4 separate regions of the Homo sapiens genome follow, and all the other regions are linked to region 4. Evidence: promoter capture Hi-C in 16 types of primary human blood cells and fetal thymus (Javierre and others, 2016). All regions are on one chromosome and are shown on one strand. The core of a region is centred on a gene start or on the middle of the fragment in contact, and the rest is flanking DNA. Distances in the headings are between cores, read along the strand shown. Region 1 has its middle 100 kb from the start of LINC02998. Region 2 has its middle 86 kb from the start of ESM1. Region 3 has its middle 110 kb from the start of ESM1. Region 4 holds the start of ARL15 (ARF like GTPase 15).

What was found. The method cuts DNA at HindIII sites, captures the fragments that hold promoters and counts their contacts. A CHiCAGO score of 5 or more calls a contact.
Region 1: a contact is called between a fragment that was not itself captured here and the fragment with the promoter of ARL15 in region 4, in 2 of 17 cell types (neutrophils and total B cells). The highest score is 5.4, in neutrophils.
Region 2: a fragment that was not itself captured here is called in contact with the fragment with the promoter of ARL15 in region 4 in 2 of 17 cell types (M2 macrophages and M1 macrophages); the score reaches 6.6 in M2 macrophages.
Region 3: a contact is called between a fragment that was not itself captured here and the fragment with the promoter of ARL15 in region 4, in 4 of 17 cell types (total B cells, naive CD8 T cells, monocytes and 1 more). The highest score is 11.6, in total B cells.

Annotation. Positions count from the first base shown.
Region 1 is chr5:54,844,409-54,847,108 of GRCh38, forward strand. It overlaps the pseudogene CSPG4BP. Among named protein-coding and RNA genes, the nearest start is that of LINC02998, 100 kb to the left of the region's middle. The HindIII fragment of the contact is 9,684 bases long and covers 1-2,700 here.
Region 2 is chr5:54,898,204-54,900,903 of GRCh38, forward strand. No RefSeq gene overlaps it. Among named protein-coding and RNA genes, the nearest start is that of ESM1, 86 kb to the right of the region's middle. RefSeq lists a silencer at 1,469-1,626. The HindIII fragment of the contact is 5,239 bases long and covers 1-2,700 here.
Region 3 is chr5:54,870,920-54,873,619 of GRCh38, forward strand. It overlaps the pseudogene CSPG4BP. Among named protein-coding and RNA genes, the nearest start is that of ESM1, 110 kb to the right of the region's middle. The HindIII fragment of the contact is 2,048 bases long and covers 256-2,303 here.
Region 4 is chr5:54,309,153-54,311,852 of GRCh38, forward strand. It overlaps ARL15 (ARF like GTPase 15), which reads right to left and starts at 1,421. Exons shown (of 5, transcript NM_019087.3): 1 at 1,280-1,421. The coding sequence starts at 1,327. The HindIII fragment of the contact is 4,353 bases long and covers 1-2,700 here.

The DNA of each region.
Region 1 (2,700 bases), core at 98-2,597, 540 kb after region 4:
CTGACTTGGAAATGTGCTGCCATTTCTCTTCTCGTGACTTGTAGAAACAATCATTTTTTCCAAGGCCATACACACCAAGGCTGGACAAAGCATGTTTTCCACTGCAGCTACTCTGCTATGGAACACTGCTTTCCCTCCCTCTCGCCTCTGAAATATACCATCTTCCAAAACAAATGGAAAACCTGCCACTCAAAACAAGATCTAGTAGCCTCAGGTCTCATTTCCACTCAAACCAAATTTAGTTCAATTAACGACCCCATTGCTTCAGGTAAGGCCTGATTTAGTGCCCAGTGCTTGGTAATGGAAACTTCAGGCAGATGAGGAGAAGGAAAACAAAGACCCCCAATTTGAATTCAGATTTTAAAGTGATCCAAAGCCCAAAAAAGAATAGTTCAAAGCATAAATATCAGAAAATAACACAAACCTGGAATAATAATTTTTAAATTGACCTTTAGCTTTAAGAAGAGTTTAGTGGTATTTAGAAACCTAATTGTGATCCCATTTAATCCTAGTTGTAAACTTAATATTTAAAAGCCCAGACCTTTGGAGGCAGAGGTTGCAGTGAGCCGAGATCGTGCCACTGCACTTCAGCCTGGGTGACAGAGCAAGACTTCGTCTCAAAAACAAACAAACAAACAAACAAACAAAAACAACAAAGCCTAGACCTTTGTTGCGTTTCATACGAGGGATGTGAAATGCTCATGAATTCACTCTCCCACTGTTGGTCCCCCGAGAGCTTCAATTGGCATTTCAAACTTTGCTGCCTTAATTCTTCTACTGTGACCAGCTCTCAAAGCTCCTTTTAGTGATGACAAGTATTTCTCAAAAGCAAGCAAATGGTTCTATTTTCAGTATAAAAACAACAAAACAAAATGTATAGTATTACTGAAAGAGGAACTTGAAAAATAGGAAAATGAAGCCCCCTTGTGGACAAAAATATGTTTTATCAGATATGCACAAAATTCACTGATCATATTTGAATACAAAAATACTCAGTAGAATATATTTCAAAGTAAAATGCAAAGGATTCACCCAAGATGGCCTAACTCCAATTCCCAATTCCAGTTTGTTGGGACACAAATGATCTCTTGTACCATTGAATGACCTTGGAGATCAGCTGAAAGAACTGTGGCTTAAGGAAATGTTTTAATTTGTCAGGAGAAAGAAGTGTGTTTTAAATGGTGGGACACAGAGGTTAACATTCTGATTGCTGGCTATGAACTCCCTCCAGAGTCTGAGATGTTATCAGCAACTCTATCCCCCACGCTCCCACCTTCTTCTCCCACTTAGGCTGCAGACAGACTTTCTTGCCACCTCCTCCAGGCCCAGATGACAAGTAGGGAGAGTGAGTCATCATGCAGGATAATCCGAATGTCTTGAGAACATGCTGTTTGAAAAGTCAGAAACAGCACTGAATCTGAAGACTTTATCACATTTGCATTTGCATAACTGCCTTTGCCCCAGACTCTGCCACTAACTTTGTTATTTTGGGCAAATCGCTTAACCTCTTGATCTTTAATTCCACCTTCTTAAAATTGGAATAAGAGCAATACTCTCTTTATCTGCTTCACCAGGTCCTTGAGCTTCTTCGCTAACTATGAAGGAAGAAGTGAGAGAACACTGTGGTGCCAAACTCAAACTCGCATTCTAGCTCTGCCACTTGCTGTCCACCAGCAGCCCTTCTGCTTTGGACCTTGGAGAAGTGTCAAAGCCTCTCTGCATTGCAGATTTCTCATCTTTAAAATAAAAATCATATCCCAGAGAGTTGTTGAAGATTCACTGGGTAAATGTAAAGCGCATAGAACAATGCCAGGCACTGTAAGTACTATGTAAGTAATAACTATCATTAGGACCATGTAATGGACCATGTAAATGGTTGTTATTATTACTGTTTGATATGCTCTGAAATATAGAAATAAGAAACATCATCATCTGAAATAATCTCCTAAGTTTAAAACTTTGCCTGGAAAGAAGTAACTGGTAACCATAGCTTTGGAGAAACTATGTTATTGAAAACTGCATTCTCGTGGCTCTACTATGTTGATAAAATGCATATGCTATATCTATTAGCTTTCACAAAAAAGTAAACACACCTGATGTGTGAAAATTATTTAATAATGTTAAAGGTTATCAATTTATGAGAACACTCTGCAATTGATCAATACACACAGTCTTTCCAGAAAGTTTCTATGCTCATTTGCCATTGTTATTACACATTCTAGTGGATAAAAGAGATACCACACTCCAATAAAAAATGAGGGGCAGATATTAAAAGGATGTTTTAAGGAATCGCCACACTGACTTCCACAATGGTTGAACTAGTTTACAGTCCCACCAACAGTGTAAAAGTGTTCCTATTTCTCCACATCCTCTCCAGCACCTGTTGTTTCCTGACTTTTTAATGATCGCCATTCTAACTGGTGTGAGATGGTATCTCATTGTGGTTTTGATTTGCATTTCTCTGATGGCCAGTGATGGTGAGCATTCCTCAAGGATCTAGAACTAGAAATACCATTTGACCCAGCCATCCCATTACTGGGTATATATCCAAAGGACTATAAATCTTGCTGCTATAAAGACACATGCGCACGTATGTTTATTGCGGCACTATTCACAATAGCAAAGACTTGGAACCAACCCAAATGTCCAACAATGATAGACTGGATTAAGAAAATGTGGCACATATACACCATGGGATAC
Region 2 (2,700 bases), core at 98-2,597, 590 kb after region 4:
GTCTCTGCTTTGAATGGTGCAAAGGTGATGCACATTCAGTGCACTCCTTAGCTCCCGATGGGGTTGCATCTGGATAAACCCATTGTAAATTGAAAATACCGTAAGTTGAAAACACACTGTTGACTAACAATATTTTCAACTTATGATAGGCTTATGAGGTTCCTGATGGGCTTCTAGGGACATAACCCCATTGTAAAATGAGGAGCATCTGCGTCCTCATGGCTTGTCCCATGCTGCTGTCTCTGCTTAAATGTACTCTAACTGGTGAGGACTCCCATAGTCACCATAGATAACAGCTCCTCCATTCTGCATAAGCTGCTTTTTCTCCACAACATTGATAACCATCTGGTATACATAGATCCTTATTTATAGTTTTCCTTCCCACTCTAATGTAAACTCTATGTGGCAGAGACTTGGTATGGTCACTGAGCAACCCCAATGCCTGCAGCAGTGCTTGGGCCATAATGGGTTTTCAATGACTATCTGTGGAATGAATGAATGAATGAATAAGTGGATACTAAGAGTATTCATGCAATGTCTGTTTTCATGAAATTTTGATAAGCCCTCATGATCAAATTGTGGAGATATTCTAAGAAAATAATTACATCTTGATTCTTTTGAGTAGGTGAATTGCCCCTTTTTTCCCCTCAGAAAAATCTGTTGGGCAGGTAAGCTACACTCAGTAGCTTAAGATGAGTCTCAATCCTGGGACTCAAGTGTTTTAACTCCAAATTCCATCCCATTTCCGTAGCCCAACATGTATCCTTTCCTTTAGCACAGAGAAAGAAGTCTTCTTTTGGAAAGCGTCATTTCCTTTCACTGTCTCCGCTTTCTCACCTCTTTTGGAGTTTAGTCTCTTTTTGACCAACCTCAACCCAGCCTCGTCATCCCTGCACCCGGCATCTTGTTACAGGCACTAGAGTTACTTATTCAGGGCAAACCTCCACTTGCCTCTAGATCCCATTCCCTTCTGCTTCTTCAAGGCGTCTCTCTCTCTCTTTTTCTTTCTCTCCTGCAATCTTCAATATCCCCCTCTCTATTTTTCCAGCTAAAAAGGATATTCTAATCCTAAAAATCCCTTTCCTGATATTATAGTCCCTTCACCATACCTAACTTCCCCCCAACTCTTCTGATCCAACTCTTTGAAGCACATGATGTCCCCTTCTCTTTGCACCCATTCAATCAGGGCAGTATAATTTCTGTTTCCTGCTGAGCTACTGAAGGTAGGATGAGATGAGAGCAGAAAGCGCCAATCACCACACCTGATGGTACTCTCTGTTCTCATCTCGCCCTACATTCAGTAGCATTCAAACTGACTGCTCTTTCCTTGAAATCCTTTCCTTTCTTGGCTTCCATAAAGCAACAGGCTCTGTGTTAACCTCCCACTTCAGTGACTGCACCTGCTTAGTCTCCTCTGCTAGCTCCATGTCCTCTAAGCCATCTCTGCACTCAGAGCTCAGCCCTACCTGCTCTCTTCTTCTCCATCTACAAATTTTTTCCCGCCCCATGGTTTGAAGTACTACATGGAAAGGACTCCCAAATTCATACTTCTGGTTCTGAGGGGCCCCCTGGGTTTCAGCCTTACTTGTGTATCCAAAGCCCTTGTTATGGACCAAATGTCTGGCCTTCTCCCCCACCTCCCTGCCCAAATTCAAATGCTGAAATCCTAACCCTCAATGTGATGGTATTAGGAGTGGGGGCCTTGAGAGGTAATTCGATCTTGAAAATGGAGCCCACATTAATGGGATTAGTTTCCTTATTGGGAGAGACCAGAGAGCTAGCTTCCTCTCTCTGTTCTCTACCATGTGAGGATACGATGAGAAGACAGCTGTCTACAAACCAAGGAGAATGCCCTCACCAGACACTGGATGTGCAGGCACCTTGATCTTGGACTTCCCAGCTTCTAGAACTATGAGAAATAAAATGTTTGTTATTTAAGCCACCCAGTCCATGGGGCCTTATGTTATGACAGCCTGAACTGAATAAGATAGGCCTGCTTGCCATTTTCCCCCAGTTGTCAAATAGTCATCTCAAAATTAATGTGACAAAAATGGAAGCCTTGACTTCTGCTCTGCAAGCCTGGTCCTCCTCTCATCCCCTTCATCTCTGTAATAGCACCACCATCTATCTCATGGTTCAAGTCCAAACCTTACGAATCAACACTCATTCATCTCTTTTCCTTATACCCAAAGTCCTGTTAGCCCTACATCTAAACATGACTCAAATCAATCTGCTTCTCTCCATCTCTGTTGCTGCTCTAATCCAAGTGACCATCGATGCTGTGTTATCTCCCCAGGGTCTGGACCAGCAGCTGACACAGCATGTACTCAATAAGTAGTTGATGAAGAAATGAAGAAATTAATATGAAATTTTTTTCTATTTGAAGTTGTCAGTTTACCATTTTCATAGGAGAGTAATGGAAAGCCAGCCAAACTATTTTACAGCAGAACTCAGAGACCTCAAGGAAAATTTAGAAGTCAGTAAAGTGTGTATCTTAATACCCCCAAATGCCAGTCCTGCTTTTGTTCCCATGGGGACCCTTCTATTCCTCTGCCATCTTCATAATTTCTCAGAGTAAAAACCTACCCTGAAGAAAGGGGCTGGAATTCCTCACACAGAAATATAAATCAATGATAGCCACTTCAACGAGTGTCCTCACAGAGCATTTGGGAGCAAGACTTTACAATGAAGGAAGAAAGT
Region 3 (2,700 bases), core at 30-2,529, 560 kb after region 4:
GTGCCTTTGTTTCAGTAAGGTCCACCTTCTTGGACCTGCAAGTTATTCAAAACCAAGAAATCGCTACTCTCATCTTGAAGAAAAGGCTTGATGACCTCAGGGACGGCAGTGGAAAGGAAAACTTCTGACTGATGCAGATTTTCTATCGCTGTTATGGAAGGATTTGTGTTATCAACACTCTCAGTTTTACAACAACAGGAATATCTTTGAAAACAAGGGCATCCCTTAACGCTCTCTTTTCTGAATTGGCTTCCAAGCTTCTTAAGCACCCTTTGAAAGAGGTTCCTCGAGCAAATTTCCCAGGCACAGAGGCAAGTTCTAACCTCTTTACTTCTTCCCACATTTGGTTATCAAGACCTCCCACAAAAAGGGCTCCTTCAGATACAAATGTTTGCTTTGCAAAGGCAGTGACTTCCTTACCTTTTTTTCATCTACTGTTAGGTCCAGATACTCCCCTGTGAATTTGAATTGAATAACATGCCACTTGTTGTCACTGACAAAACTAAAAGAAGAAAGCTGAGTTTTACTTTTATGCCTTCCTACATAAGCCTTCAATAGACTTTCATCTATTTACAAAGCAACAAAATCTCCTTCCTTACCCAACTGAAATGAAAGCAAGGCTTGCTGAGTTACAGTTTGCAAAGTAAATTCCAATAGTGTTTACCCTTGCACTTTCCATTCTGGAAAACTGACAGAGAATCTGGAGCTAAAGAAATTGATGGCTTCATCCTCCCCTGCAAAAAAAACTCGTCATTGCATCCTAGTGACACCTCATAAACCTTCTTAAAACCAGGGTAAGATCTAAGGGACGTAAGGATCTCCCTCTGGTTAAATACCACATCCTTCATACATCCTCAAAAATTGGGGAGCTTTCCGTACAGATAAGGTACATTGAGTGCCCTGCGGCCTCCTACATAGATTCCATGTTGAAAATTCAAATTATGCATCCCACCAGCTGCCATTTGGCCAGTTGTCTCATAACGTTTGTCAATAACAAAGGAAATATTATGCTTAACATAGCACAGTTCCACCAAATGCCAAACCAGGTCATCCATATGAAGTCTCTGCTCAGAAAGGAGCATTTGTTCACTTGTACCCAAATTTACTCTCACCTGAAAAAGAATCATAATTAATCAATCTCATCTCACTTTTCATTTCATAATGTTTTATTGAGAAAATCGGACCTTTCACAAAAGAAAAAGAAGAGAGAAATTTGCACATGAAAACTCTTCCCATGCTTATAGATTACATACTAAACTCAGGAAATTTTAAAGTTGGAATATTTAAGCCATGCTAGTAAAACCGAAGGAGATCCCAACCTATACAAATGGCACATCATTTTATTCTAATGAAATAACAGCAATCAATACATGTAGCTGTTTTGTTCTCTTTCTCTCTCAACTGCTTTTCTCTCCAGTAATTATATGCTTATATGTATTTTCAAGATTTAAAATCATACACATAAGGTTCCTGATTTAAGTTCTATTATACAATAGTCATTTGTCCCAGCTGCAAGCAAAAGTAATCCCTGTGGTTTGCTGGTATGAAATTTTAATTGAAGAGATAGCTCAGAGGAAACTTCTATGATGTTGAACTCCACATAGCTTTCACCATAAAAAGATGCTAAGAGGAAAATAACAAAAGAAATATATTAGTAAATTTATTATGCAATGACTATTCCACCTTATATTATCATCTCTTTTCAGGGACTGATCCTGGTGAAGAAAGTTGCCTTTCCCAAGGCCTTATCTGCTTCCTGGGGTGACCCAGAGATATGACATGGGTGTATAAAAGGCTCAGTGTTCTCTCACCCCAACTCTGGAAAGCTCTGAACGGTCATTCCCTCTTCACAACTCTCAAGAGAGGTAGCTGAGGTTTCAACTGAGATGAAATTACAATTCAACTCCTCCATCTACCCCAGAATGCTTCTTTCCCCTCCATAGGAGTTGATCCTATGAGCTCTCTCTAATAAACCTCCTGCATGCTAAGTTCCATTTCAGATTCTGCCTCCCCAGAAGCCCAACCTGTGACAATTGGTACTGGAAGTGGTCTGAAAAAGCAGATGATAAGATGAGATTTGCAGCTGGACCAACCACTACTCAAATGGTAATTAGGACACTGTCACTGGTGGTAGGTGAACCACAGAGAGCCCTGGCAATGACTGCAAACTTCACTGGTGGTGAGCTGGCTTGGTGTAAGAGCATAAAGGAATACGTTAGGCCTGGCTATGAAATGCTGAGCTCTTAAAAACAGGGCAAATAAAAAGTAACTATGAAGACAATGGAATTGGGTGCCTATTGCCAAGCTTGAATGAAGCTTTGGAAAAGATAAGGAAAAGCTGGGAAAGATTAGTTGACAATTACAAACTAAGTGTGAAAGCCAGAAGGCCTTCCTGTTAGCAAAGTCCTTCTCATCTTCTATAGCAGGAGGGCAAAAGAAGCTGAGACTCAGACCCAGGAGGTCATCATCAGAGTAGTCAAGCTCCAAGTAAAGTTTTGGGGAATCTAGCCTGCAATATCTGCCTCCCCTCTTTGCTCCTCTGTGCATTTCTTTATCCTAGAACCTGCCAAGTTGTGTTAACATTTCTTATTTATGCATCTATCTCCTGCATTATTCTGTAAGTTTTCTAAGATCGGGGACCATACCTTTTGTATCTCATCTCTTCAGTACCTAGCACAGTGCCTGGCACACGGGTGGTGT
Region 4 (2,700 bases), core at 171-2,670:
CAAAGATAAAGGAAGTTACTGCCATCAACAAATGAACAACAAAACAGAACTTGAATTCAGAATTTTAGATCCAGCTCCATTCACAAGGCTATGCATTAACTGCAGTCACCATCCTTTCCCACAAGACCATCAAGCTCTGAAGCATTAGGAGAAACATTTTCTTTATGTACACTAAAATAAGCCCAAATACACAGATAACAGCACAAAGCCGGTCCGGCGTTTCTTGGCCATCAAAGCATGCACAGACTTTCTCAGTACAGCCTTAAGTGTAATTCCTAGAAGGCACTGGCAAATCTCTGCCAGGCCAATCTGCAGTCGAAAACCGAGTGCATGTGTCCAACAAGATGACAGGAGGGTCAATGTTTCTAACCGTCTACTTCAACTCTGCATGGCAATAGCGGTTCTGCCCAACATGGTAAACACAATAATCGTATAGGATCGAACACAAGTCTCTGTAAATGAGGATCCCCTTAAACGCAAACAAGCAACTCTGGGGAAATATAATTTCTGGAACAAAACATGGTGCTCGCATAATTCCACAAAGACACATAGAAGTCCATTTTTAAAATGATGTTCGGTCCCAGCACTGTGCTGACACTTTTCCCACCTAAACTTCTCAGCACAAGCCTGGCCTAAACAGCCGGGTTCCAATCCGTGCACAGTGGAACCGCGGCACGCACCCAAGACCGGAATGGTGGGGCTATACCTGTCCCTACTCAGTCCTGTTCGTGCCAGCCTGCGAGGTAGTTTAGACCCGTCTGCTTTATGGTAATGTGCTTTTAAAACCCCGCCACGACCGAGGTCATAGCTTTAGAGATTTAATAACAATCAAATGACCAGGGCTGCTGGGCACTTAGTGAGCCATTCTGGTTATGGCTCTTTAATAGCACCTGGAGTTCTGCTCCAGGGAGAGAGGAAAACTCCTGCTCCCCCGGAAAGAAAGTCCTCTGCGGAGAGCGCAGAGGGAAGCCAGGAAGCCGATCGCGGGCAGGGGACGCGCCGCCGCGGCCGCCCCATCTCTCAAGCAGCCCCAGCGCGACCCTCGCCCTGCAGCCGTGCTGGCCCAGGCCGCACCTTTACCTGTCAGCTCCACCACCCACCCGCCCTGGAGGCTGCCCCTCCGAGTCCAGGGAAAGGCTTACCAGCCGGCTGCGGGAGAAAGAACCCCAGAGGCATCCTATCCCAAAGAAAGAAAGCAAAAAGGCTGCTCCTCAAGGCAGGGGGCCATCGGGCACGCCGAGATCCGAGAGGCGACATGCCACCCCTGCCCTGCACCTACCAGATAATCCATGTACAGAAACGCCTCAGTTATTCGGAGATCAGACATCCGGCAGCCTAAAGCATCCGGAACGGCTCCGAACCCGGAAAAAAAAAGCAGCGTCTCTGGCTGCGAGCGAGCAGCTCCTGAAAAAGCCAGCAACAGCGAAAATAGCCGAAAGCAGCCGACTAGCCGGAGATTACACAAGGGGCGCGGCGATTGGCCAGGCGGGCGGGCAGAAGGAAAGAAGCGTGCTCATTGGCTGCGGCGCCTATAAAAGGCAGGCCCCAGCTGGTGGCAGGAGAGAAACGCGGGAGTGGTGGGGGATGTGGGTTCCTGTGTGCTGAGCGGAGGAGCCGGGGTGGGGGCGGTGCAAGCGGAAGAAAGAGCCAAGAGAGCGGAAAATCGGCTGGTGCTGTCGCCGCCCGAGTTTTGTGTTTCCACAGCTTTCCAGTTGGGTACAACGGAGCCGAACTCCGTGTTCCCGGGCTGGAGAGCCTTGGTGTCCCCGCCAACCCCCAGTAGGAAGCGAGCGCTGTAACATGGGAGGCGTGGTCGCCACTGATCTTGTCTCCCCCCAGAGCCTTCCTAAAGGCTCTGCCGCCACGAGACTGCACCACCGGGAAAGAAGTGTGTGAAAGTGTACTCCGTAAACAGGCAATCCTGTACGCGACTTAGGGGCAGAAAGACCCTCCGCACTTTTATCATTTGAAAGTAAGGTGGACGATTCCAGCCTGGTGTCCCTGAGGGTACACACAGGCCCCCCGCGCAGCCAGAGGTGACTCAGGAACCCCCCTTCCAACCCCTGCGTAGAACGCCGAACAGTCTTCGGAGAATTCGCTTTCCTCCACGTGAAAAGGAAAAGAAAAACATTTGAGGAGTCGCAGTAGTCACTTGTACTCCCCAAACACACGGGAAGAAGTTGATCAGTTTGCATGCTTGGAGTCAAATTACGCTCAGCACAAATCCAACGCCCCTGAATTAAATGAGCAGTAGAAGCTCTCTGCAAAAAACACAACAGTATTTGTGACCCGGTATTATTTCAGGAGGTAAAAACATCTATAAGCAGATGCATTTGGGACGTATGCATTTCCTGGTAATGTCAATATCGCATTAAGCTAGTGGGTTTGGGCAGGGAAAGCCTGAATCGGACAAGAAGCTGGCTTTTTTTTTTTTTAGGCTATAAATAACCAGACCATGCCAGACACATGTTCTTAGGCTATGTTCTTAGGCTCAGGTGATTGGAGTGCCCCCCCCCCCATCCCCACCCTCAGGGCTTAGGGAGAATGGAAGATAAGGTGGATGCTGTCACCTGTATTAATAGTTAGGGCTTGCATACATACAGTAAAGTTTCAAGAGTGAAACTTCATCGACTGAACTCTTTATGAAGTGACTGCCTGACTCTACACGCGATGTTTTAGGAGTTGAATTTTTACTTTCCC